Linked DNA regions of Homo sapiens: all the other regions are linked to region 5. Evidence: promoter capture Hi-C in 16 types of primary human blood cells and fetal thymus (Javierre and others, 2016). All regions are on one chromosome and are shown on one strand. Each heading gives the region's core, a stretch centred on a gene start or on the middle of the fragment in contact. The rest is flanking DNA. Distances are from core to core; before and after follow the strand shown.

What was found. Contacts are between HindIII fragments. The CHiCAGO score rates a contact against its expected background, and 5 or more counts as called.
Region 1: a fragment that was not itself captured here is called in contact with the fragment with the promoter of ETV6 in region 5 in 2 of 17 cell types (activated CD4 T cells and non-activated CD4 T cells); the score reaches 6.0 in activated CD4 T cells.
Region 2: a fragment that was not itself captured here is called in contact with the fragment with the promoter of ETV6 in region 5 in 1 of 17 cell types (non-activated CD4 T cells); the score reaches 5.3 in non-activated CD4 T cells.
Region 3: a fragment that was not itself captured here is called in contact with the fragment with the promoter of ETV6 in region 5 in 15 of 17 cell types (activated CD4 T cells, M2 macrophages, M1 macrophages and 12 more); the score reaches 23.3 in activated CD4 T cells.
Region 4: a contact is called between a fragment that was not itself captured here and the fragment with the promoter of ETV6 in region 5, in 2 of 17 cell types (activated CD4 T cells and non-activated CD4 T cells). The highest score is 5.8, in activated CD4 T cells.
Region 6: a fragment that was not itself captured here is called in contact with the fragment with the promoter of ETV6 in region 5 in 3 of 17 cell types (activated CD4 T cells, monocytes and naive CD8 T cells); the score reaches 6.8 in activated CD4 T cells.

Annotation. Positions count from the first base shown.
Region 1 is chr12:11,996,033-12,000,487 of GRCh38, forward strand. No RefSeq gene overlaps it. Among named protein-coding and RNA genes, the nearest start is that of BCL2L14, 73 kb to the right of the region's middle. The HindIII fragment of the contact is 3,502 bases long and covers 553-4,054 here.
Region 2 is chr12:12,049,380-12,053,759 of GRCh38, forward strand. It overlaps a transcript of BCL2L14 not described here. Among named protein-coding and RNA genes, the nearest start is that of BCL2L14, 19 kb to the right of the region's middle. The HindIII fragment of the contact is 1,396 bases long and covers 1,554-2,949 here.
Region 3 is chr12:12,029,459-12,034,115 of GRCh38, forward strand. No RefSeq gene overlaps it. Among named protein-coding and RNA genes, the nearest start is that of BCL2L14, 39 kb to the right of the region's middle. RefSeq lists enhancers at 2,846-2,895, 3,346-3,445 and a silencer at 3,897-4,191. The HindIII fragment of the contact is 4,828 bases long and covers 1-4,645 here.
Region 4 is chr12:11,946,990-11,951,515 of GRCh38, forward strand. No RefSeq gene overlaps it. Among named protein-coding and RNA genes, the nearest start is that of BCL2L14, 120 kb to the right of the region's middle. RefSeq lists an enhancer at 2,835-3,619. The HindIII fragment of the contact is 1,976 bases long and covers 1,957-3,932 here.
Region 5 is chr12:11,647,167-11,651,827 of GRCh38, forward strand. ETV6 (ETS variant transcription factor 6) reads left to right here and starts at 2,508. Exons shown (of 8, transcript NM_001987.5): 1 at 2,508-2,994. The coding sequence starts at 2,962. RefSeq lists an enhancer at 1,411-1,510 and silencers at 1,691-1,930, 2,221-2,430, 2,641-2,690, 2,701-2,860. The HindIII fragment of the contact is 9,207 bases long and covers 472-4,661 here.
Region 6 is chr12:11,973,850-11,978,121 of GRCh38, forward strand. No RefSeq gene overlaps it. Among named protein-coding and RNA genes, the nearest start is that of BCL2L14, 95 kb to the right of the region's middle. The HindIII fragment of the contact is 6,562 bases long and covers 1-4,272 here.

The DNA.
Region 1 (4,455 bases), core at 1,054-3,553, 350 kb after region 5:
TCTTGGTTTTGGTGGTTTTTGGCCTTTTTTATTGCAACCTGTTTTATGAGCAAGTCTTCATCACCTGTGTCTTGTGGCGACCTCCTAGCTCATCCTGTGACTGAGAATGCCTAATTTACTGGGAATGCAGCCCAGGAGGTCTCAGCCTTATTTTACCCAGCCCCTATTCAAGATGGAGTTGCTCTAGTTCAAACACCTCTGACAATCCCACAAAATGAGAACTCAGTCCCACAGACTGTCCCCCCACTTCAGACACCAGTCACAAGTTCGGGTCCCCCGGACTTCTGACAGCTTCAAGTTGGAGTTTCCACAACCCTCTCTTTGGGTTCCATTAACTTGCTAGAGCAGCTCGCAGAACTCAGGGAAACCTACTTACATTTGCTGGTTCGTTATAAAGGATATTACAGAGGATACAGATGAAGAGATGCACAGGGAGAAGTATGGGAAGAGGCACGGAGCTTCCATGCCCTCCCCAGCATGCCACCCTCCAGCAACCTCCATGTGTTCAGCTATCCAGAACTCTCCAAACCAGGAATTTTGGGTTTTTATGGAAGCTTAATTAGGTCGGCATGATTGATTAAACCACTGGCCATTGGTGATCAACTTAACCTTCAGCCACTCCCCCTCCCTGAGGTTGGGGCATGGGAAGGAAAGTCCCACCCTCTAATGCTAATGCTGCCTCAGTCTTTGTGGTGACCAGCCTTCATCCTGGAGCTGCCAGCCACCAGTCAATCGGTAGCATACAAAAAGACATCACTTTAAAAATTCTAAGGATTTGGGCCAGGCGTGGTGGCTCACGCCTGTAATCCCAGCACTTTGGGAGGCCAATGTGGGTGGATCACGAGGTCAAGAGATCGAAACCATTCTGACCAACATGGTGAAACCCTATCTCTACTAAAAATACAAAAATTAGCTGGGTGTGGTGGCACATGCCTGTAGTCGCAGCTACTTGGAAGGCTGAGGCAGGAGAATCACTTGAACCTGGGACGCAGAGGTTGCAGTGAGCCGAGATTGCGCCACTGTACTCCAGCCTGGTGACCTAGCAAGACTCCATCTCAAAATTAAAAAAAATAAAAATAAAAATAAAAATTCTAAGGATTTTAGAAGTTGTACGCCAGGAATCTGGTATAAAACCAAATATAGGCCGAGTGCAGTGGCTTACGCCTGTAATCCCAGCAAGAGACTAGCCTGGGCAACATGGCAAAACCCTATCTCTATAAAAAATACAACAATTAGGCAGTTGTGGTGGCATGCGTCTGTAGTCCCAACTATTCAGAAGGCTGAGGTAGGAGAATCGCTTGAGCCCAGGAGGTGGAGGTTGCAGTGAGCTGAGATCATGCCACCGCACTCTAGCCTGAGCAACAGAGCCAGACCCTGTCTCAAAATATATATATATTTTTTTTTTCGTTATAAAGGATATTATATATATACACATATTTCACAATATCACAAAAATATATCTATTTTAAAGTACTGAACAAAAAAACGTTGGGAGGATCAGAACTCTGATATTTTCTGCTTTAAACTCTGAAATTAGTTCAAAGATTCTGGTGCTATTTCTTGATGATATCCATCGTGTGTGTGTGTGTGTGTGTGTGTGTGTGTGTAAAACACACACAGCATTGGCAGTCAAGCAAACAGGCCAAGGTAGAAATTGAGAATTCTGAGATCTGTCTAAGTCAACCTTTATTTTCTTTATTTGGAAAATAAGAACAAAAGTAACAAAAATACAGCAAAATTATGACAAATAAATCTGACATTTAAAAAATCCATAACACTTTTAACATCCACATCTATTCTGAATTACATAACTATGGAATTTCTTATGTTCTTCATATTATTTTGTAAGATTTATGTACTGTCTGCCCAAAAAAGTGTACACTATTATCCCCATTTTTGCAGAGGTGGGAGTTAGATATCTAGACATTGAGGATCTTAGCTAAGGACAACAGCTGGTAAGAGGTTGCATAGTTAAAAAGTGTTACCAGAAAGGGGTCTAGATCCAGACCCCAAGAGAATGTTCTTGTATCTCGCACAAGAATTCTAAGTGAATCCATAAAGTAAAGTGAAAGCAAGTTTATTAAGAAAGTAAAGGAATACTGGCTCACGCCTATAATCCCAGCACTTTGGGAGGCCGAGGTGGGTGGATCACCTGAGGTCAGGAGTTTGAGACCAGCCTGGCCAACATGGTGAAACCCCGCCTCTGCTAAAAATACAAAAATTAGCCAGGCATGGTGACACAGTCCTGTAATCCCAGCTACTCAGGAGGCTGAGGCAGGAGAATTGCTTGAACTTAGGAGGTGGAGGTTGCAGTGAGCTGAGATCGCACCATTGCACTCCAGCCTGGGAGTCAGAGCAAGACTCCATCTCAAAAAAAAAAGAAAGTAAAGGAATAAAAGAATGACTACTCCATAGGCAGAGCAGCAGTGTGGGCTGCCCAACTGATTATACGTATAACTATTTCTTGATTATATGCTAAACAAGGGGTGGATTATTCATAAGTTTTCTGGAAAAGGGGTGGGTGATTCCTAGAACTGAGGCTTTCTCCCCTTTTTAGACCATATATGGCAACTTCCCGACATTGCCATGGCATGTGTAAATAGTCATGGCACTGGTGGGAGTGTCTTTTAGCATGCTAATGCATCATAATTAGTGTATAATGAGCAGTGAGGGCGACCAGAGATCACTCTCATCGCCATCTTGGTTTTGGTGGGGTTTGGCTGGCTTCTTTACCACATCCTGTTTTTATCAGCAAGGTGTTTGTAACCTGTGTCTTGTGCCAACCTCCTGTCTCATCCTGTGACTAAGAATGCCTAACCTTCTGGGATTGCAGCCCAGTACGTCTCAGCCTTATTATACCCAGCTCCTATTCAAGATGGAGTCGTTCTGGTTTGAATGCCTCTGATAAATGCAAACCCAGGTCCTTCTGGCTCCAAAATTCAATCAATGTTGCCTCTTTTCAAAATATTTCTATCTGCTTGGGAAAATTCCAGCTGATTTGCCTTAGGGGAGAATTTAGGATCCCCTATTAGTCATGGTCCCCTGGGGAAGGAAGGCATCTTCTCCAACCTGGGGCTGCCTGAGGAGAACTCACCAGTCACCACCAAGACACACTGACTGCAATGCAGCCAGCCCCCTGACTTTTGGAGGAATCCTGGTGCTTCTTCCCACCTTGAATATGCTCTAGCCTAACTGTCTGCCTGGGGCACTAGTGTTCCTGCATGGCTTCCCGACCAGCCAGGCCTTTTCCATGATTTGCTTCTTTTCTTCTCTAAAGTATCCTTGTTACTTTTTTTGTTTTTAGACAGGGTCTTGCTGTATTGCACAGGCTGGAGTGCAGTGGCTCAATCACAGCTCACTGTAGCCTCGACCTCCCAGGCTGAAGTGATCCTCCTGCCTCAGCCTCTCATGTAGCTGGGACTACAGGCCTGCACCATCATGTCCAGCTAATTTTTGTAGGGGTTTTTTTGAGACAGAGTCTCACTCTGTTGCCCAGGCTGGAGTACAGTGGTGCTATCTTGGCTCACTGCAACCTCTGCCTCCCGAGTTCAAGCGATCCTCATGCCTCAGCCTCCCAAGAAGCTGGGACTACAGGCACATGCCACCACACCTGGCTAATTTTTTGTATTTTTTTTTTTTTTTTTTTTTTAGGAGAGATGGGGTTTTACCATGTTGGCCAGGCTGGTCTCAAACTCCTGGCCTCAAGTGATCTGCCAGCCTCAGCCTTCCAAAGTGCTAGGATTACAGGCATGAGCCACCATGCCCGGCCAATTTTTGTATTTTTTTGTAGAGATGAGGTTTTGCCGTGTCGCCCAGGCTGGTCTTCCTTGTTATTTTCTAAGGAGACTCTACCTTGCTCCAGTTCTGGCCTGACCATCCTCTTCTTGAGTTTCCCATCCTGATACTCCTTTTCCTTGGGTGGGTTTGATGAAGTTACAGCAATTCCAACCAAATTAGCTGTCTCTCCCCTTCTTCAAATCTTCATAAAGTAACACCCCCGGCTTCTGCCTACCCTTGCCTGGTCTCCCCAGGCCATCCTGGCTCCAATGCAGCAAGCTTTCTCTGGCTCAACCTTTGTGCTGGGTTAAGATCCTAATCCGACCTGTTCCTTCCCTCCTTCCAATACCCAAAAATGTTTTGGATGTTTTAATAAATCAAATGAGGAGTTATGACCTTCTGATTAAAGTTTAATAAATTTATCAAAGAACTATGAGAACATTCAGATTAAAAAATAATGAAATGTAAAATAAAAGCAATAAAGACGAATAATAAAATCAATAGATATTATTCTAACATCAAGAAGCAAATTACAATAAGAAAATTAGATTATACCAAAGGCAAGAAGTGATTCATTAAGAGAAAGAGAAGGGACACATTTCAAATAGAAATCATGTTAAGTAATAAATTATTGGATTATTTGATAATCCAATGAGTGAATCATAAAAATACATAGGA
Region 2 (4,380 bases), core at 1,002-3,501, 400 kb after region 5:
TTTTCTTTTAATATGGGGGTAGGGGCTGCCCAGTCTCACTGCAGACAGCTAAAGGAATCGCAGCACCAGGCGCGATGGCTCACGCCTGTAATCCCAACACTTTGGGAGGCCGAGGCGGGTGCATCACGAGGTCAGGAGTTTTGAGACCAACCTGGCAACATGGTGAAAACCCATCTCTACTAAAAATACAAAAATTAGCCGGACCTGGTGGCGAGCGCCTGTAGCCCCAGCTACTCAGGAGGCTGAAGCAAGAGAATCGCTTGAACCCGGGAGGCAGAGGTTGTAGTGAGCCGAGACCGCGCCAATGCACTCCAGCCTGGGCGACAGAGCGAGACTCCATCTAAAAAAAAAAAAAAAAAAAAAAAAAGGAATCCCAGCAATCCAAGGCGGAATTCTAGAAATAGTTTCCCGTAGAAACACCGTTCTACACTGCAGTCTTATTCTATCCCACTATTATTACTCCCAAAGATTCTAAGGTCCCAGTGCTTTCGCTTCATCCTAGAGGCTAAATGGGCTCCCCTGGACTCGCCTGGCAGAACTAACCACCTAGAAGAACGTTATTGTAAGGGGGAAATGTGAGTGCTACATAAGTTTCTTATAAATGTGCTTTTGAAATAGAGTCCACTCTTAAGTTTGATATTTCCTAAAATTTAATGTGTGAAGGAAGATGCTTGGGAGACAATCCGTTTATCAGGCTGATATATGGCAGATAGTCTACTGACCTCCCTGAGCAAGAACCTTAGGAATGAGGCCAGGTGGCAGAAACACTCAGGGCCAAGGGTAGGGAGCAAAACTGTGATGTAAAGAGACCTAGATGGACTTGGGAGGAGGTGGGGTTCAATAGGAGGCCACGACTAATGCCCTGGCATGCAAAGGCTGGACAGGAGTCTTGAAAGAGCCTCAATTAGCTGGGCGTGGTGGCGGGCGCATGTAGTCCCAGCTACTCGGGAGGCTGAGGCAGGAGAATGGCGTGAACCCGAGAGGCGGAGCTTGCAGTGAGCCTAGATTGCGCCACTGCACTCCAACCTGGGCGACAGAGGGAGACACCATCTCAAAAAAAAAAAAAAAAAGAAAAGAAAAGAAAAGAAGAAACAAAGAGCCTCAAAAATATGGAAAACCAGATCCTAAGAGCAAAATGCCAAGGGGGACACTTATTAGTGAGGAGTCTGCAAAAACAGAAAGGTTTTAGCCAGAAGCTTATAGGAGTAGACCTGGAACCCAAATTGAAAAGGAACAGTGCGACCCGTAATTTGAGAAGGAAATAGAATAGGCAGAAGAACTACAGAAACTATAGCTTCGAGTCTAAGAGCCTATTTACAGGGGTGTCCAATCTTTTGGCTTCCCTGGGCCACACTGGAAGAAGAATTGTCTTGGGCCACACATAAAACACACTAACACTAATAGCTGATGAGCTAAAAAAAAAAAAAAAAAAAAGAAAAGAAAAGAAAAGAAAAAAGAATGGCCGTGCATAAATCTCATAATGTTTTAAGAAAGTTTACAAATTTGTGTTGAGCCACATTCAAAGCCATCCTGGGCCTCATGCAGCCCGTGGAAGCTTGCATAAGAGAGAGATTTAGGACCTTTTGGCGGAAGTGCTCGATAAGGATTGAATAGCACCATAAACTGAAGCTAAACTGAAAGGTTTTAGAATTTAACTTAAGACACCTCAAATGCTTTTAGATGAAACTCAGGACTTTTCACTGTAGTAAAGTTCAGCGTGAAATTGACCTTGTAGGGGCACCAGACAGCAGTGAGCAGGGTGTATAAGAGTGAGGGAGGGGTTAATAAATAGAGATGGTGGGAAAAGGAGCTGGCTTTTCGTGAGTTCAGCTTCTTGCAGACTAGACTAGCAAGAGTCAAGAATGAACCTAAGCCAGACTCAGGTCTACTGGGCAGTGCTAGGCCTGTCTCAACCCTGTTTGCACATCAGGTACCCCATGCGTCTGCTGTAGTCTGTAGCTACATGGGAACCTAAAACATCACCGAGGTTTCTAGTGATGTTGAAACTCAGCTAATAAACAGGGAATCCCGAGGGTTCCCCTCTACTCCACTCCTGACAGTGGCCATCCTGCCTCTGCTTGAATACCTTAACTCGCCTCTCATGAGGCACCCATCTCCTCATTAAATGATTGTCACTGGGAAGAATCCGCCCCACACAGCCAGATCAAATTTACCCCCTGGTAACTTTCAGCCCCTGGTCCCCATTCTGCTCTTTAGCACTAGGTAGCTGAATCGAATCTTTCCATGAGAGTCAATTCCATTCCTCCTAAATCTTCTCTCTTCTAAGATAAATAGTCCACATTATACAATCTTAATACCCAATTCAATGAGCACTTCATGATAGTCTAATATATGCAAAGCACCATGCTTGTGCCAAGTGGGACCCTAAAGCGAATATTATCTCCTTGCTCTTTAGGCAAACAGGGTGAAGACAAGAGGCATAGGTGATGGACACTAAAACAAAGACCGTAAGTACTGTAATAGCTACACACAACTTACAATCATATAGGCATGGGGAAAGAGTAGCCCAGCTTACCTTGGAGGATCTGGAAAGGTTCTAAGAAGAAGTGGAATTGAGTTGGAGTTGGAAAGACTTCAACAATCAGATGTGAGAAGGACGTGGGTGGTGAGTGCAAAGAAAATAGGACACGGCTGAGGACCTTGTTTTCTTTTTCTTTTTTGAGGTTTTTTTCTTCTTCCTTTGTTTTTCGTTTTATTTTTATTTTTCATTAACAAGTAGTAATAATACATGTTTATGGAGTACAATTTGATGTTTTGATATAGGTTTACAATGTGGAATGATTAAATCAGGCTAATTAGTAAATCCATCACCTCACAAACTTACCAATTTTTTGCAGTAAAAACATTTAAGATCTACTTTTAGCAATTTTGAAATATACAATGCATTATTACTTATTATAGTTACCATGCTGTGCAATTGATTAGTAAAGCTTATTCCTCTTGTCTAACTGAAACTGTGTAGCCTTTTCCCAACCACCGCTCCACCCCCAGTCCCTGGTAACCACCATTGTACTCTCTACTTCTATGAGATCAACTTTCTCAGATCCTACCTATGAGTGAGATCGTGCAATATTTGTCTTTCTGTGCCTGGCTTATTTCACTTAGCGTAGTGTCCTCCAGATTCATCCATGTTGTCCCAAATCACAGGATTTCACCCCTGTTTAAGGCTGAGTAGTATTCTATTGTGCATATATACCACATTTTCTTTATTCATTCATCTGTTGATGGACACCTAGATTGATTCCATATCTTGGCTATGGTAAATCGTGTTGCAATGAACATGGGAGTTCAGGTGTCTCTTCAACATACTGATTTCAATGCCTTTGGATAAATACCCAGAAGTGGGATTGCTGTATCAGGACCTTGGTTTCTTAGCTTCTGTCTGACCTTGAGCATACCTAAAATAAGAGCCCTGAACGAGATAATTTCTAAAGTTTAGTGATAGAGACCAAAAGGAGTATACGTCTGAGCATTCCAACTTAGGCCAAAGCCTAAAAGTGAGAAGCCTGCCCATATCAAGGGAGTGAGGTGTGTGTTTGGGGCAGGGGTAGTAGAAGAGCAAGACGGTTCATGAATTCAGTATTCTTGTTTCACTGATGCAGCACCCATCACCATTCTGATCAGGTCCCTTGGGGACATGGACAGTGTCCTTAGAATGACAATGATGATGGTACCACCAGCACCACCACCACCATTTCTCTAGCATGTGGGTGAGCCAAACACCTTTGGAAACACCTTACATATTTACATTTACATCCTACTGAATCCTCATAACAGCCCTGTGAGATAGATAGAATTTTTATTATTCTCATTTTACAAATTAGAAAGCTGAGGCACAGAAAGGTTAAATAACTTGCCCAAGTCCATAGGGCTAATCTAATAGCAGAGCTGGGATTTGAAGGCAAGTAGTCTCACTCCCTGCTTTTCTTCCTCGAAAAACACAAGGGCAGGGCTGAACTCAGCTCAGGGGACACAATCTATACCAGGACAAGGTTACAATGGCCCTATAACTTCTTCTTCTTCTTTTTTTTTTTTTTGAGACGAAGTTTCACTCTTGTTGCCCAGGCTGGAGTGCAATGGCGCAATCTCAGCTCACTGCAACCTCCACCTCCCGGGTTCAAGCAATTCTCCTGCCTCAGCCTCCCGAGTAGCTGGGGTTACAGGCATGTGCCACCACACCCGGCTAATTTTGTATTTTTAGTAGAGATGGGGTTTCTCCATGTTGGTTAGGCTGGTCTCGAACTTCCAACCTCAGGTACCCGCCTTGGCCTCCCAAAGTGCTGGGATTACAGGCGTGAGCCACCATGCCCAGCCGGCAATATAACTTCTTTTGCATTCTCATTAACTCAGCCTCAGACG
Region 3 (4,657 bases), core at 982-3,481, 380 kb after region 5:
ATCATCCATAAAATGAGGATAATAATAACCACCTAGCAAGACTAATGTGAACATTCTAGAAATAATTTTAAAAGTGCCTAGCTCACCACCTGGCCTATAGTAATTCAGCAGCTCTCAACTTGAGAACAAGACACACATTAGAATCTAGGTGGCAAAAGGAGGGTATTTCTAACTAGTCCCAGCCTACCTCCCACTCATATCCTGATTCCCCTGGAAGGATGTGCCTACCTATTCTAAACCCATTACCCTGGATGAAGAAACACTATGTCTCATGCACGATATAAAGTGTGGGAGTGTGTTTTGCATGTGAATGATGCATAGGTAGAATAAAGTTTGAGAATCACTCTGTAAGCATTCATCTCAGTTCAACACTTATAAAGCACCTACTGTGTGCCAGGCTCATAAAAAAACTAGTTTGGATTATTTCCACATAATGATAGAGGTATGTATAAAATCCTAAGAGAATATAATACAGGAGAAGGCACTCAGCCTGGGGGGTCAGGAAGGCCCACAAGCCTTGGCAGTTACCCGGACTAGCAAAGGTGAGAAGATCATCTCAGGGGAATAGAAAGGTATAAGTTGGCAATAGCATGGTGTGTGCAAGGAACTAGGATCCAAGCATCAAACAGGGTCAAGGAATTAAATATTTGGGAGAGGCAGACAAGCGCAAGTTTATGAAAGACATGCAAAGAAACCTACTTAATCCTGTGGGTGGTGAGAGCCACAGAAGAGCATGATGAAAAGGAGACCCAGGCTCCTCTGTGCTCCAGGTCAGTATCTCTGAAAGCAGTTCCCAAGCTAAATGTCATGATGAAAGCACAAGGAGCCTCAGAGAGCTCAGCCTGCAGAGGAATTCATTCCTCAGGGGCAGTGTGCACTGCTCACTCAACTTTGCTTCTCCAGCACCCACCCAAGTCTGACCCCACTGGAGGCACTAGGTTCATTGTACAGAACTGATATTAATAAACTTCCTTATCCAGAACTTGTGCAATAGCCGAGCATAGTGGCTCAGGCCTGTAATTCCAACACTTTGGGAGGCCACGGCAGGCAGATTGCTTGAGCCCAGGAGTTCGAGACCAGCCTGGGCAACATGGTGAAGGCCCATCTCTACAGAACTACAAAAATTAGCCAGGAGTGGTGGTGCACGCCTGTGGTCCCAGCTACTAAGGAGGCTGAGGTGGGAGGATCTCTTCAGTCTAGGAAGTCGAGGCTGCAGTGAGCCATGATTGCAACACTGCACTCCAGCCTGGGCAAAAGAGTGAGACCCTGTCTCCAATAAAAAAAAAAACAAAACAAAAAAGAGAACCTGTGCATTTTAACATTATCTCCAACTATGGAATTCATTCAATCACCAACTTTTATTAACCATCAAGCAGGGAGGGAAGATATGAACAGAAATACAGTCAGGGCTTTACGACAGGGATACATCTGGGAAATGCATCATTAGGCAGTTTTGTTGTGTGAACATGATAGAGTGCACTCACAGAATCCTAGATGGTACAGCCTACAGCCTACAACACAAACAGGCTACGGTGTATAGCCCATTGCTCCTTGGCTACAAACCTGTACAGCAAGTAACTGTACTGAATATCATAGCCACTTGTAACACAATGGTATTTGGGTATCTAAACAAACCTCACGTGAAAAAGGTACAGTATAAAAGATTAAAAATGGGCTGGGCGTGGTGGCTCATGCCTGTAATCCCAGCACTTTGGGAGGCCAAGGTGGGCGGATCACGAGGTCAGGAGATCGAGACCATCCTGGCTAACACAGTGAAACCCCGTCTCTACTGAAAATACAAAAAATTAGCCGGGCATGGTGGCAGGCGCCTGTAGTCCCAGCTACTCAAGAGGCTAAGGCAGGAGAATGGCATGAACCCGGGAGGCGGAGCTTGCAGTGAGCCAAGACTGGGCCACTGTACTCCAGCCTGGGCGACAGAGCGAGACTCCATCTCAAAAAAAAAAAAAAAAAAAAGATTAAAAATGGTACACCTGTATAGGGCACTTACCAAAATGGCTGTTGCAGAACTCGAAGTTACTCTCGGTGAGTCAGTGAGTGAGTGGTGAGTGAATGTGAAGGACTGGGATATTATTGTCCACTACTGTAGACTTTATAAACACAGTACACTTAGGCTACACTGTTTATTTTTAAAATAAAGTAATTGAGCTACAACATGACAATGGCTACAGCGTCACTAGGTGATAGGAATTTTTCAGCCCCATTATAATCTTATGGGACCACCTTCATACATACAGTCGGTTTTTGACTGAAACATCATTACATTCAGCACGTGAATGTAATTGCGATGAAGTGAAAGATAAAGGTTATAGTTCTAGTGTATCCACAGTGCTTTAGGAGATGAACTGTTAGGGAAAGCCAGAAAAATCTCCACCACGGAAAAAATATTTGGCCTGCGTCTTGAAGGATAAATAGGAAGTCAGTACTCAGACAGGTGCCAGTGTTTTTCAGCCTGAGGCAGGGAGGTATGAGAGACAGCTGGAAGGGTTTGAGAATGGGTGGTGAGAACTTACACTTACTGGGGACTGGATATAAGAATGCAGTAAGACGTGGACCTAGCACCGTGATTTTTCGACCTGGGCTACACATCAGAAACACCTAGCGAGCTTTTAAATCTTCCAGGGCCCAAACCACATTGTGAACCAATTAAATCAGGACGTCTGGGGCTAGAAGCCAGTCATCAGTATCTTTTTTTAAGCTCCCAAAGTGATTCCAATGTGCTGCCAAGTCTCAGAACCACTAGTCTAGAAAGGAGGGATAAGGATTTTCAGCAGCCCCCACAGAACCGGCCCTCCTGGTGACCCTGCAATCCTGGCACACACACCCCACCCCGCCTGGGAGAAAGACCGGCCACACCACAGTCATCGGCTGTTTCCTGCTGCTCCTTTCCTCCCACCAGCATTTTACTCTGAAATAGTGGTTCTCAAAGTGTGGTCTCCAGACTGTAGCATCAGCCTCAGGGGGAAATTCTTAAAAATGCAAATTTCCCAGCCGCACCCTGGACGCATTCACCCAAAAACTCTGGGAGTGGAGCCCAGCAACTGAGCCATGCTAAGGTTGGTGAGCCGCTGCTCTGGAACATTGATCCCTCCCAAACTGCAGCAAAGCAAGCACCTGGGTGTAGCTCTGGCTGTGTAGGTGCTACTACAATCTGCTGGAGTCACTGCTTGTCGGCAGAGATGCCGTGGGAGCTGGCCTGGGTGCCTCCACGTTGGCCGTCACCACCAGGCAGTGGCCTTTGGCCTGGAATCGAAGGTACCAGAGGGCTGATAGCTCAGTTTTTTTATGGCACCAAGAAAAGACTTTCAGATTGGAGGTATGGGATTTTCTTTATTTTTTAATCCTCTTTTAATATAAAGTGGCCCCTTAGCAAACTTTCAAGATATTTCACATCAGAACTGGCCGGGAAATCCGGCATGTGGACAGACACGGATATGCCGTGTGCATTTTTCCGTTGGAGGAAGAGGGTAGGCTTGGGTGCTGGAGGGTGTTGCCTGGGGGCGGAGCGAGAAGGAAGAAAGGGCGCTGCTGGTTCACACCTCACCCATGCCCTCCTCTCAGGCCCCAATCAGGATGGAATTAAAAGACCCTGGGAGGAAAATAAGGAAAGCAACAAAGGAAATGAGTTCCCCATACAGAAAGGGAAATTGCCTTTCCCGTTAAGGTCAGACTGGTCCGAAGTAAAGGACTGGTGCGCCTTAGCAACCGCCTCTGCTGAAGCCCTAACGCTGGAGCTCTTTCGCCCTCGCAGAATAACCGGGACTTTCTTGCAGCCGGAACCAGCCACGTCCTGATTCCACACTCCCTTGAGGAGCCAGCCAGCTCCACATTTACTCAAAGAATCCGAAGGGCACCAAGTGGATGCTCTGCCACACGATTGAAGAGGGCAAGCTGTCTGGGGGGTTTTCCACCTCTTTTCAACTCAACTATTCTGAGCTGAAGTACTGGACCCGTTTTGTTTTTCCTGTTTTTTCCTGCTTCGGTAAATCTGGAAAAATCCTGCAGGTCTGAAAAACTGTTGGACTTGACAGCGTGTGTGTAGCGCCACCTGGTGACCACAGCTTATCAAAACAGCTTCCTTCTGGGGCTCTTGTGGATGTACATCAAAGGCTCCAGCTTCCAGACAGGTACACATCCTGTTCTCACGCCCGGCCCACTTTCCCGTGGGAATGTCAGCCACTCTGATTTGCCTTGGCTGAAAACCTCCTGTCTTTGCATGGAAAAAAACACAAATAATATGAACAAGCAACAGAGTTTTCTTTCTCTCTTAAGTAACCAAGCATTTAAAATCTTCTAAAGCACACATTTCCCTAATTGAGAAAGGAAGCAGAAGAAAAATTTCTGGCTGAAATTATAAATCATAATAAATGGTCGGAAATACCTTCTCCCTTAGATTCCTGGGGTCCTAGTGTAGAGGAGACTTCAGTTGCCCTTGACACTACAACATCCTGACTAAAAGCCTGTTTCCAAGGTGATATTTGATAGACATGAAGGACCCAGGTGGAAAAGAAGGTAGTCTGGACGGCACGGCAAGGAGTGGAACACGCAGGCTATGAGGTGTCAGCAGAAATCAGTTCTGGTCCTGGCACTGCTACCAACTTGCTGTGTGACCTTGGGAAGTTACTTAAGCTTTGTGGAT
Region 4 (4,526 bases), core at 1,695-4,194, 300 kb after region 5:
GATGATCTGAGGTGGAACAGTTTCATCCCGAAGTCATGCCCCTTCCACCTGCCATTGGTTCATGGAAAAATTATCTTCCAGGAAACCAGTTTCTGGTGCCTGGTTGGGGCCCACTGCACTATGGGGGATAGCAAGGCTGCTGCTTGGGTACGTGCTGCTTCTCTGTTAAAATATCCTGCTAGGCATATGCAATCCTGCAGGCACATGACTTGGCAAGGTCTGTTCTTTATACGAAGAGAAACATGCTCCTTCTTTGGGGGACATTACCCTGCCCCAGTGCACAGCTTGCTGAGCAAAGTGCAGCTTAGATTTCAGCCCCTCCCTGACTCCTCAACTGGCACCACCATTTGTGACAACTCCAGAGCTGACTGCCTGGGAGGAAACAGAAGGAACCAGGGCCTCTCGGCCTCTCGGAGTCTCTTCAAAGTCAAACAGCTTGTGTGGTGGGAACAAGATGACGGGGAGTCAGAAGGATGGGTGCTGTGGTCACAGCATGAAGCACGGGGTGTAAGACTTCTGGGGGGATCCTCAGCGTGGGATAGCAAGTCCTGTGGGAGGGTGGAGTGCAGTGGTGATAAGATCTTGAAACTGAGGAAGCAGTTTGAGAGGCAGATCATCTATAGGGGTATTAAAAATTGAGTGGAAGAAAATGAAGAATGAAGCCTCAGTGAGAGAATCACAAGGAAACAGTAGGTGACAATGAGAGGAGGTAGAGCCAGGTGGTAATAGCCTCGGACGACTTCACACAGGGGCAGAGTAGCCATGGGAGCAAACAAGCGACAACCACAACAGTCTAGCTTTCCTCTCCTGGCCCCTTGCTACCTGGAACATCAATTTGTTCATTTAAGCAAATATTTATTTATTTAAACCAATAATGAACCTCCATGTCTTAGTTGGCTCAGGCTGCCAGAACGAAATACCATGGCTTAAACAATAGGAATTTATTTTTCATAGTTCTTGTAAGAGTCCATTCTCGCACTGCTTTAAAGGAATACCTGAGACTGGGTAATTTATAAAGGAAAGAGGTTTAATTGGCTCACAGTTCTGCAGGCTGTACAGGAAGCATAGCGGCTTCTGCTTCTGGGGAGGCTTTAGGAAGCTTCCAACCATGCTGGAAGGCAAAGCAGGAGCGACAGGTCCCACATGGAGGGAGCAGGAGCAAGAGAGAGAGGGAGGAGGAGGTGCTGCACACTTTTAAACAACCAGATCTGACGAGAACTCCCTCACTATCCCAAAGAGAGTACCAAGTGGGGGGGGTGGTGGTGTTAAACCATTCATGAGAACCCGCCCCTATGATCTAGTCACCTCCCACCAGGCCCACCTCCAACACTGGGAATTGCAATTCTACATGAGATTTGGGTGGGGAGACAGACCCAAACCATATCAGTTCTGGAGTCTGGAAGTCGGAGATCAGGGTGTCAGCCAGCATGGCTGGGGTCTGGTGATGGCCACCTTCTCACTGTGTCCTCGCCTGAGGTCGGGGCAGAGAGAGAGAGCACATATGAGCTCTCTGGTGTCTCTTCTTATAAGGACACTAATCCCACCATGAGGGTCCTACTCTTACGACCTCATCTGAACCTAATCACCTCCTAAAGACCCCCTCTCCAAACACCATCACATTGGGCAACCCAACTTGTTATCTCCAGCCTGAGCCTCCCCCCAGAACTCTTGGACCCCTGTGCTTCATGCTGTGACCACAGCTCCCATCCTTCTGACTCCCCGTCATCTCGTTCCCACCACAAATATTCTTTGACTTTGAAGAGACACCGAGAGGCCAAGAGGCCCTGGGTGCCTCTGTTTCTTCCCAGGCAGTCAGCTCTGGAATTGTCAGAAATGGTGGTGCCAGCTGAGGAGCTCCTCAGTGGGCTTCAATGCATGATTGGGGAGGGGAGGGACACAACTCAGTCCACAGCACTCCACTATCTGTGAACAAAAACAAAGTCTCTATTCTCATGAAGCTTACTTAGCTTCTACTAGAGGGAGGTGGACAATAAACAAAAAATAAATAAATGATATATTGAGGTAACAAGGCCATAAAAAGATTAGGTTGGTGGGGTGAGGAGCGGCTGGGCATTACTCTGTATAGAATGAACATGGAAGATGAAGGAGTAAGACAGTGAATATCTGTGTGAAGAGTTTTCAAGTCTGAGAGCAGCAAGTGCAAACACCCTGAGGCAGGATCAGGTTTTACCTGTGGAGCTGCCGAAGAGAGAGGGAGGAGGAGGAAAGTAGAATTTGTATTCGTTGGAGTGTAACTGGGGGGCCAACCACGTAGGCGCATTGTAAAGACTTCAGCTTTTACAGCTGAAGGTGGAAAGCCATGGCAGGTTAAAGGGGAGGGAGGTGACATGACCGAGAAAGGGAGGATGGGAACCCTGAGGTGAGAAAGTGACACGGGGGTGCTCCTCGGGAGAAAGGTGTGTTGCAGAAAGGACAAGGAGGTGGCAGCAGAGTGGTTTGGATAGGCTGAGTGTAGTGGTGTGAGGGTCCCACAGGCACAGACCCCTGGGGTCTGCAGCAGCCAGAAGGGGCTGCCCTGTGGGAGACCCATTCTGGGGAAGGGCTGAGGTTCCATGTGGAAGCCGCCGGCAGCAAGTTCCACAAGGTCTCAGGATGGAAGATGAGAGGGGATATGGCAAAGCCTGGGTGCCTCTTAGAATGTGCAGAAAGGCTTTCTGGAGAGTAGGCAGAGGGCATGAGTCTCTCTGGCCAAGAGCTGCCTCCTGCTACGTTTTGAGAGGAAAAGGTAGCACAGTGGAAACTAGGAAAGCTGTCCAGCCAGGAAAAGCCCCCATCCCTGAGATCTGGGTCAGCCTAAAGGTTCTGATGCTTTGGTGAGCCGGAGGAGGAGCTTCACAAGGAAGAGTCACTGGAAGGAGAAACCAGAAGCAGGGAGGGAAGGGCTGCCACCTGAGGAGACGTCCTCCTTCACGACTTTGCTGGCCTGGTCACCTGGGCCTGCAGGGGAAGGGCAGGGAGGTGCCACCTATTGTGAAGGAAAATCAGCCACAGTGTATGTCTAAGCAAAAGCCACTCTCCAAACCCTCGTTTGCAATTTTGTCACTTCTTTGGCAACAAGCCCCCTGCAGCTGTTCCACCCAGAGCCTCTGCCAGGTGACCTGGCCGTGCCCAGTGCCCCACAGCTGCAGCCTGCTGGCGGGGACTCCAAGTCTCCCCTGCTCCCAGCTTTCCTGACTCGGGGCTGTTGGGCTTGGAGGGAGCTGCATTGGGGGACAGGTGAGGGAGGAGGCCGGGGCACCAGCAGGAAGCTCTGGCTCTCCTTCTCTTTCCTGGTAAAAGCAAGGCACAAAGCACTCTTTGATCTGTGCCCTCTGCCAGTTCTGGCAGGGCTGCGCTTGTCACTGTTCCAAAAAAGAGCAGAAGGTTACTTAGCTATGGATGAATAATAATTGGGCATTTGTCTAACAGCTACTGTACTGATGAATAATTAAAATTTTTATTACAATTGAGGCAAAGAGCACTCTACCCATACGGATGGTCTGTCAGCTCTGCCAGAGGAAATGCAGGTAATTGAAGAGTGTCCTCCAAGTTCTGAAATAATAGTCATGATCATGGCAAAGATGTCTGGGTTAAAAGCTGGGAAAATAGGTGGACAACCAGACCCAATCACCAAGGCTTCTTCCTTTTTGGGATGTAATAAGGTAAATCGGCTAAAGCTGGTCTTGGGAGTGCAAATGGCTGGAACAGTCAGGGAAAGCTAGGAGTGAAAACCAGGAGGAACAGAAATAAAGAGAAATAGATGAAGACTTACTAGGCAAATGCCCTTATATAGTAGCTGATGAGGATGACTTTGATGAGATAAGAGGGGACAGCTGGAGCATAATGGAAAAAGTCAGAAATGAGAACACCCTTGTCAAATGGCTTGGCTCCTTTTTGGCTGTAATCTTGTGCAAACTCACTTAACCTGCACAAGCTTCCCTTTCTGCCTCTATAAAATGGGGATGATACTGTTTAATCATTGGCTCATCTTCTGAGGATTAAACAAGATAATGTTGAGAATATTTAATAATTATGAAGGCAGACAGCAAATGCAAGTAATTATAACTCAGAAGTCAGAATTAAAGGTAACTGGGTTCAAACAGCTTAAGAGTTGGGACGGGTTGAGTGAATGAGGATACAGAAACAGTGGAGAAGAAAATCAGTGGTGTTGGGGTTGGACCAAATGAAATCAACAGTGGAATTTCACTAACTTAAATACATTGTGCAAGGTAAACAAATTCCTTTAGTTATCAAATACCATTTGATACTTCCCGGGTGTGTTAATAAGACAGTCCACTCAAAAAATGGACCACTAAATGATAATTATTTTGATGGGAGAGTGTCTATGGAATTCATACACCCACGAAATTATACTGTGAGGTGTGACCATGCACAGGAAAGACTATTATGCCCAACCTTTTGAGAGCATGTCATGTGCAAGAGAACCTGGACACACCCGAGAGATAAATGGCAAGAATGCCCTGGCTCCCCAAACATATAAGGAGGAGGCTGTGGCTTGCTCTTCC
Region 5 (4,661 bases), core at 1,258-3,757:
TGCCTTTCATTATTATACCTGTATTAAAATTGCTATTATTACACTTTGAATTGACAAAATAAAAAACTGTGGACTTTTTTTTCTTCGTGTTATATAAGTATCTACCTGACATTCTCAATTTTGTCTCTTGGCCCACAAAGACTAAGGCATTTACAGCTGGGCCCTTTACAGAGATTGGCAACCCCTGGTCTAAATGTAGTTTTTGCTACAGTTGTCAACTATGTTTTTTGCTTTGGAACCACAAACATTCTACTTCAAACTACTACTTCTATGAATCACTTGTAGACGTTGAGGAGGAGTTAGGAAGAAAAGTCGAGAACTAATTTAGTCCTGGGGTTAAATAATAATTGTAGCCAACTTGAATTGAGCACATATATTGTGCAGCTCTCTGCTAAGGAGGCATTTGTATATATTTTCTTATTTAATAAGATAATCTTATGAGCTAGGTACTATTTCTCCCCATTTTACAGAAGCTTAGTGACTGTGTTGTCAGGGATCACATTGCTAAGTGATGTGGAAGACATAACCTAGCAATGGGACATCTAAACCAATGTCTGCAACATCAATTAAGAAAAGCAAAAGAGGCCGGGCGCGGTGGCTCACGCCTGTAATCCCAGCAATTTGGGAGGCCGAAGTGGGTGGATCACGAGGTCAGGAGATTGAGACCACGGTGAAACCCCGTCTCTACTAAAAATACAAAAAAGATTAGCCGGGCGCGGTGGCGGGCACCTGTAGTCCCAGCTACTCGGGAGGCTGAAGCAGGAGAATGACGTGAACCCGGGAGGCGGAGCTTCCAGTGAGCCGATATCGTACCACTGCACTCCAGCCTGGGCGACATAGCAGACTCCGTCTTAAAAAAAAAAAAAAAAAAGCAAAAGAATACAGAAAATTGTTAAAGGGGAGAAGGGGGTGGTCAAAGGCAGAGGAGTCGGTGTGGACAAGACAGAGATCTCTTGGAGAGAGGGCAGGACTACCAGTTGACAAAACCTGTTCAGGTTCCTGGAGGCTCACAACCACCAGTTCCCATCATCCCAGCAACAGCACTCTTTCCCACCCTAGCCTCGTTCGTAATGATCTGATCAATGTGTGAACAAAAATATTGTGTGTACAAGTCTCAACACATTTGATAATGTGAAGAGGTGAAGGAAAGTGGGTAGGAAAAATCTGTAGGGTGGGGAGACTCGGGGAAATGTGTCCTGGTCCAGTGCAGGTAACATATATGGGTATATATGCGTATATACATATTTATACCATATTTAATATATTACTCTATTAAGAAATTATAACAAATTTCCTTTTACATTACACATCCACATATTAAACCCCCAATATGTGCTAACAAGGTTAGAATTTAAGTATAATGATAATGTTCTCAGTTTTTTGTGGTGGACACTTTAAGAGAGTGTAAATAATAATAAAAATAATAGAGTGATCAGATCACTTGTGCTCAGGGCTAGACCCTTCAGCCCCAACGGCCTTAACCCCCCTCAACTGCTTTTCCAACCAAATATTCCTCCCCCTGCAGGATCCCAGGGCCATCCAATCAACCGGCCAATGACGGTTTCAGAGAAGCGGTCCTGGGGAGGGGTATTATCTGCAGGAACACGTCCTGCCAACTTTGTAGTCGAGTCACCTATTTCGGTTGGTAGCGGCCGCTATTTCTTTAAAAGGGCAGTGGATTTCGAAACAGGAGGGGGAGGTCAGGAAAAGGAACTCAGCTGCCTTTGATAACTGCCCTGCAGCCTTCCCTTCCCGGAGCGCGTGCTCGGCTCGGGAAGCGCCCGCGGCCGCCGCATCCCCGAGCGGGCGCGTGGCGCCACCTCTTTCCGGGGCGCCCACCTTCCCCGGGAATCCCCCCGCCCGACGGTCCCCCAGCGTCTGCGGCGCGGCCGCCCCGGCTTTGTCTCCGGCGTCGCGCTCGGGCGCCCGCTCTCCCCACATTTCCCCGTGTGCAGGCTGTAACCCGATCTCCCATTTCCTGGTGGATTCTCTTAAAGAGGCAGCGGTCGAGAAGCAGAACAAAGGCTATTGTTTTATTTCCTCCTTCGGATTCCGCGTCCTAACCGGAATGGCCCTTCATAGATAATTACTTTCGTTGCATCTGCGCTTAGTGAAACGTTTCAAAACCCTTGTGCACATCGATGTATCCAAGAGACGGAGCCAGGGGAGGTGGGAGGAGTTTAATAAAACCTGTTTTGTGGTGTCTGGGGCCACAATGTAACGTTTTTTAAAGGTGTCTTCCTTAAGCCCGGAAATTGGCTCGGCCAGCGGGAGGTCTCGCGGCGTGGAGGGCGGGCGCCCGCACCGGGGGCCGGCCTGGGGGGCTGCGCCGCTCGCCCCGCTCGCAGCCGCGGCCCCACGCGGCCCCGCTACCCGGGTTTCCTCCGCCCGCGCCCCCGCGGCCGCCCCTCCCCCGCGCAGCTTTTATTTCCCCGATGCCGGGCTGTAACCCGAGCTTTTATTTCCTGGTGGCTCCTTTAAGAGGCAGAGCTCAGTGCTGGGAATTCACGTCAGTTTCTGCACTGAAACTCTCAAGATCAATGAGCAAAGAGCTTTCTCAGTTCTGCCTTTCAGTTTCTCTCTTCCAGGAAGGAAAACATTCGAGAGAGCGAGGGAGAGCCGCGGGAGGGCGGGGGGCGGGGGCGCCGGCTGCGGGTGGGAGGAGAGACCGGGAGGCCGGCCGGGCTGCGTCCCGGGTCCCCGCGCCGCGCCGCGACCTGCAGACCCCGCCGCCGCGCTCGGGCCCGTCTCCCACGCCCCCGCCGCCCCGCGCGCCCAACTCCGCCGGCCGCCCCGCCCCGCCCCGCGCGCTCCAGACCCCCGGGGCGGCTGCCGGGAGAGATGCTGGAAGAAACTTCTTAAATGACCGCGTCTGGCTGGCCGTGGAGCCTTTCTGGGTTGGGGAGAGGAAAGGAAAGTGGAAAAAACCTGAGAACTTCCTGATCTCTCTCGCTGTGAGACATGTCTGAGACTCCTGCTCAGTGTAGCATTAAGGTAAAAATCTTCTCCCCTCCTTCTACGTGGTGGAAACCCTGAGCTGCACCGGCCAGGGCAGTCGTGCTGGGCTCCTCAGAGCAGGCTGTTGCAGTTGCTCTGTTCGCAGGAAATTATTTGGGGCGAGAGGGAAAGAGATGCAGCTCGCGGTGGCTGCTGTACCCTTTAGCGTAACCTTGCTACTCCCCCCCACCGCCGAGCCCCTGCCGGCTCCTCGGCCCCCACCCCCTTGCTTTTTGACAATGAAATGCCGGTCACAATTGGTCAGAGCAACCCGGATTGTCTCCAGAACCGTAAAACACCCCCGTAATTAGTGCGCTTAAAAAAAAAAAAAACAAAAAACAAAAAAAAAAAACCTGCTCCCTATTCCTACACCCAACATGTGACTGAAATATAACTTTTGTTCCCGAGGGGTGGTCGTCTTAGAAAAAAAGTTGTTCAGTTTCCACTGCGATAGAATCTTTTTATTTTTTTAAAGGACTCTCTGGGTCTGATCAGACAGGATTTTTTTCCCCCTCGTCTGATTGTAATTGCAAGCGCTGTCGGAGAGACAGTCCTGGTGTCAGCTTTTCCTAGGCATTGCACAATGAATTTTTTTTTAAAACCAAGGTGAATAAAGTTGCTGAATAGTTATTTTACTCCGATCCATATGAAAGTTGAGCAATCCCAAAGTAGAAAACTCCTGTGATGGAGGGAGAGGAAGAACTAAGCAACCAGGCAAAATGACCTTCTGTGTTTGACAGTGCAGAGAGGCTATCTAAGCAGCACTCTGTAAATGCAGGGCGGTAGATGTTTGTAAACACACTGCTGGGCTACCCAGTAGTTGTGTGTATGCATGTCTATATATCTGTAAAGACTGTGGTGCTGCGGTTTGTTGCTTCTAAAAAGTTGTTGTAAAGTTTGCCACCATTGGGAGGCAGGATGATTTATCCATCTACCCGTGTTATTTTTCCCATCGCTGCATTTATTGTACACTTTATTCATTTCGCTGTTCCACCAGTACCCAGGTAGAAAGCCTTCCGCTCTTGTGAGAGGCTGAAGCTGCTGAAGTTTGTTTTTGGTTTGGCCTATTTAATGTGTGTTCACTGAATGGACACTACAGCAACAATGAACAAATAACCTGTTTTCTTCGTCTGTGGGGAGTTAGAAAAACCCTTCCTGGTTTAACACTGCCTTTCAATTAGAGTCTGTGTAGGGGAAACGCAGTAGTTCATCATACGTGCTTACTAGGTTTTTTATAATTAGAATCACATTTTGGTGTTTCTTATCAGAAAAGATATTCATGGGTTTGAGGATAGGCTAATGTGAAATCAAAAGGTGGTTTGGGCTTCTTTGTTTTTGCCTCACAAAAATGCCTAATGGAACTTTTAGGCTTTTGTGTTTGTACATAACTGGAGGTAGCAGTATGTATGTCTGTGGGCATGGGGCGTGCCACACTAAAGAACTTAGGGTACTTTGATATTAATACTTCAAAACCAGTTTCTTTTGCGGTATAAATTAGATTCTACACAGAGTTCAGGAAAATCCTGCGGTATAGATAATCTAATTTATTTGACGCTTCATAACATAGAGGTAACTAAATAGTAGGATATTCAATAAATAAATTGTATTTGGCTCAGTGGCAATAAACCCGACATCAGGAAAATCTGCCAACTACAGATCAGTAA
Region 6 (4,272 bases), core at 1,726-4,225, 330 kb after region 5:
AAATTGTTACTAAATATGTACCTACTGATACACATGTCCTCTTTCAAACACCCCTTCACCCTGCTCCTTTCCTCCTCACAGTAGCGCCAGCTACACTCCAGAACACTAGGACAACTTTAATAAGGGGCTAAACTATTTGTGCCTGACATTGCTTGATTATCTTGCCAGGAAAACAGATGCAAGGTCCTGAGGTACTATCTCAAATACTGGCAAAGAAAGGGAGATTGAAAAGTTCATGCTTACCATGAACAAAATTTCAGATCAAAATTCTACAATGTCCTAATCTACTTACAAATTGGGGAAAGGAGTGGCACTATTTTTTCCCTGTTTCTCCTCTGCTCACAGGTGATTTCAACAGAGTCTGTTCTCAGTTCTGGACTAGTTTAACTGTAACTGGAGCCAAAACAGCTCAATAGGAAAGAACTGTTTTTTTCAGCAAATGATGCTGGAACAACTGGATAGCCACATGCAAGAGAATGGAGTTGGGTCCCTGTGTCAGTCAGCTTGGGCTGCCATCACAAAATACCATAGACTCTGGGGCTTAAAGCATAGACTTTATTGTCTAACAGTTCTGGAGGCTGGAAGTCCAAAATCAGGGGGCCAGCATTGTAGGGTTCCTGGCTTGCAGATGGCCGCCTTCTCACTATGTGCGCACATGGCAGAGAGGGAGGGAGAGAGAGAGGCAGAGAGAGAAAGATCTTCCCCTTCATACAAAGCCACAGTCCTATCTGAATAGGCTCCACCCTTGGGAGCTCATCTAGCCATAATTACCTCCTAAAGACCCTATCTCCTGATACAGTCACACTGGGAGTTGTTAGGACTTCAACATGTGAATTTGGGGGAGATACAATTAAGTCCATAGCAGTCCCATCCTCACACTACACACAAAAACTAAGTCAAAATAGATCAGAGACCTAACTGTGAGAGCAAAAACTGTAACACTTTTCAGAAGAAAATATAGGAGTAAATCTTCACCACCTTGGGTTAGAAAAGGCCTTCTTAGAAAAGATACCAAAAATACAAATGAGAAAAGGAAAAAAGATAGATAAATCAGACTTCTAATTAAAAACTATTGTGCTTTAATGGACACCATCAAGAAAGTGAAAAGACACCTCGTACAATGAGAAAGAATATTTGCAAATCATATACCCGATAAGGGACTTGTATCTGGAATATACAAAGAACTCCTACAACTCAATAATAGAGACAAAGAATTAAAACATAGGCAAAGAATCTGAATAGACCTTTCTCCAAAAAACATATAAAAATGGCCAGTAAACACGTGAAGAGGTGTTCATCATTATTAACTATCAGAAAAATGTAACTCAAAACCACAATGAGATATCACTTCATACCCACTAGACAACTATAATCAGAAAGAAAGATAATAACAAATGTTGGTAAAAATGTGGAGAAATTCAAATCTTCAATATGCCGCTGGCGGAATATGAAATAGTACAGCCACTTTGGAAAACAGTCTGGCAATTTCTTAAAAGGTTAAACCTAAAGTTATCATATGAACCAGCAATTCTATTCCTGGGTATATACTCAGGAGAAATGAAAACATATATCCACACAAAAACTTCTATACAATGTTTATAGCAGCATTATTCATAACAGCCAAAGACCAAAAGCAATCCAAATGTCTGTCAACTGATGAACAGACAAAATGGTAAATCTATACAGTAGAATATGATTTGGCCATAAAAAGGAATGAAATACTGATACAAGCTACAACAAAGATGAACCTAGAAAACACTTTGCTAAGTCAAAGACGCCAGTCACAAAAGCTGCATATTGTATGACTCAATTTCTATGATATCAGAGTAGGCAAATTATAGAGACAAGAAAGTAGATTAGCGAGTTGGCTTGCGTAGGGTGGGGTGGGAAGAAACAGGGAGTCACTGCTAATGGGTGCAGGATGTCTTCGGGGGGTGATGAAAATGTCCTAAAAATGATTGCCATGACGGCTATATGGCTCTGGGAAAATACTAAAAACAATTGCGTTGTACATTTTAAGTGGGTGAATTGTATGGTATGTGAATTACAACTCATCAATGTTGATAGATGTGTGTATGCATATATGCACAACTGAAAAAATAACATTCCCCGAGATTTGAAACAGAAGCAAAATTAAGAGAAAACGTTGGGAGTTAGACCCAACATTTGGGCTTTCATTCACTTGGGAGAAAGCGTCAAAGTGTCTGAAAGCTAGAAAAATGGAATTAAGGGAAAATATACTCAGGAAAACCAAGCTGGAGTGTAGATTGTGTTAAGCTGAACAAAATAATAAGGCACTATCTTGTTTAAAGAGGACAGAGCACTAGCATATGACTTTGACCATGCTTAGAATGCTTCCTGATAGGAAGGAAAAGGAACCCACACAGACCAGCCACATCTCCTTCCCTGGAAGTGACCCCATCTGTGATACGTGAATAACACAACTCTTCCCCCAATTATAAAAATAACATATTTAAGATAGTATAAAAATGCAGAGAATGGCGCGGGCAGGAATCATTTAATCTTGCCATGCAAAGATAAGTACTAATATTTGTCAGAGGTCCCTCCTCAGCACATTGTTCCATATATTCAAGCTCATGCAATACATACACTTTTGTATCTATATTTTACACTTAAAATCAACATTTTTCATTATCATTTCAAACTCTCATAAATATTACTTTCAATCAGAAGAATAAACCATAATTTATTTAAGAATTTTCCTAAGCCAGGGCTTTTATCTTTTCAATCTTTCACTTTTTTTTAAATGTTGCAAAGCAAATTTTGAGCATAGAGGCCAGGCATGGTGACACATGCCTGTAATCTCTGCACTTTGGGAGGCTGGCAGATCGCTTGAGCTCATGCATTTGAGACCAGCCTGGGCAACACAGCGAGACCCTGTCTCTACTAAAAATAGAAAAAAATAGTCGGGCGTGGTGGTGCACACCTGTGGTCCCAGCTACTTGGGAGGCTAAGGTGAAAGGATCCCTTCAGCCTGGGAGGCAGAGGTTACAGTGAGCCAAGATCATCCCACTGCACTCCAGCCTGTGTGACAGAGCAAGATTCTGTCTCGAAAAAAAAGAAAAAAGAAAAAAGAAACTTTCGAGCACAGATTTGTCTTATCAGATTCAATTATTTCTTAACATATAAATAATTTTATACTAAAAGGTGTGAAACTAGTGGTCTTCATAGTGCTAATCAAAAATGTTTTATTAAGTTGGTGCAAAAGTTATTACGGTTTTTGCCAGTATGGCAATTACTTTTGCACCAACCTAATACTAACTTATACATTAACAGCAGTAGGTGATACGCCCATTCACTATCAAACATGAGGACTCCTGTTCCCCTTCCAGAAGGAATCCTAAGGAAAGAATTCTCACTGCAGCATGATTTAAGATAGCAAAAATTGAAGGAAAAATAAATAGCCATCAATATTGGAAAAGTAAAATAGATCCTGGTGAGTTATTTTTCAGTGATTAAAGATAAGTGGTTTCAAAGAATATGAAAAAAAAGATTTTCAGCCTAAGCAATGTAGTGAGACCTCATCTCTACTAAAAATAAAAATTAAAAATTGTCCAGGTGTGATGGTGCACACCTGTAGTCCCAGCTACTTCGGAGGCTACTGGGAGGATCGCTTGAGCTTGGGAGGTCGAGGCTGCAGTGAGCTACAATCGAGCCGCAGCACTCCAGCCTGGGTGACACAAGCTGAAAAGAAAAAAAAAAATTCACAAATTCTCAAAAGAAATGGCTTGTATGTCAAACACCAAATTCTTTGTGAGCTCGGGTAATATAAAAACACACCAGCAGTGTAGGCCGAGCGCGGTGGCTCACTCCTGTAATCCCAGCACTTTGGGAGGCCGAGGCGGGCAGATCACAAGGTCAGGACATCGAGAGTATCCTGGCTAACACGGTGAAACCCCATCTCTACTAAAAATACAAAAAATTAGCCGGGCGTGGTGGCGGGCGCCTGTAGTCCCAGCTACTCAGGAGGCTGAGGCAGGAGAATGGCATGAACTCAGGAGGTGGAGCTTGCAGTGAGCCGAGATCGCGCCACTGCACTCCAGCCTGGGCGACAGAGTGAGACTCCATCTCAAAAAAAAAAAAAAAAAACAAAAACAAAAACACCAGCAGTGATTAAGTCTGGGTTGTGGGATCATGAGTGATTTTGTTTACTTATTTGCACTTTTCTCTATATTCCAATCTGCCTATACTGACAACTTACTACTTTCATAGTTTTTAAAAATCTTTGATTTTATAAATTAGCCCATAAGT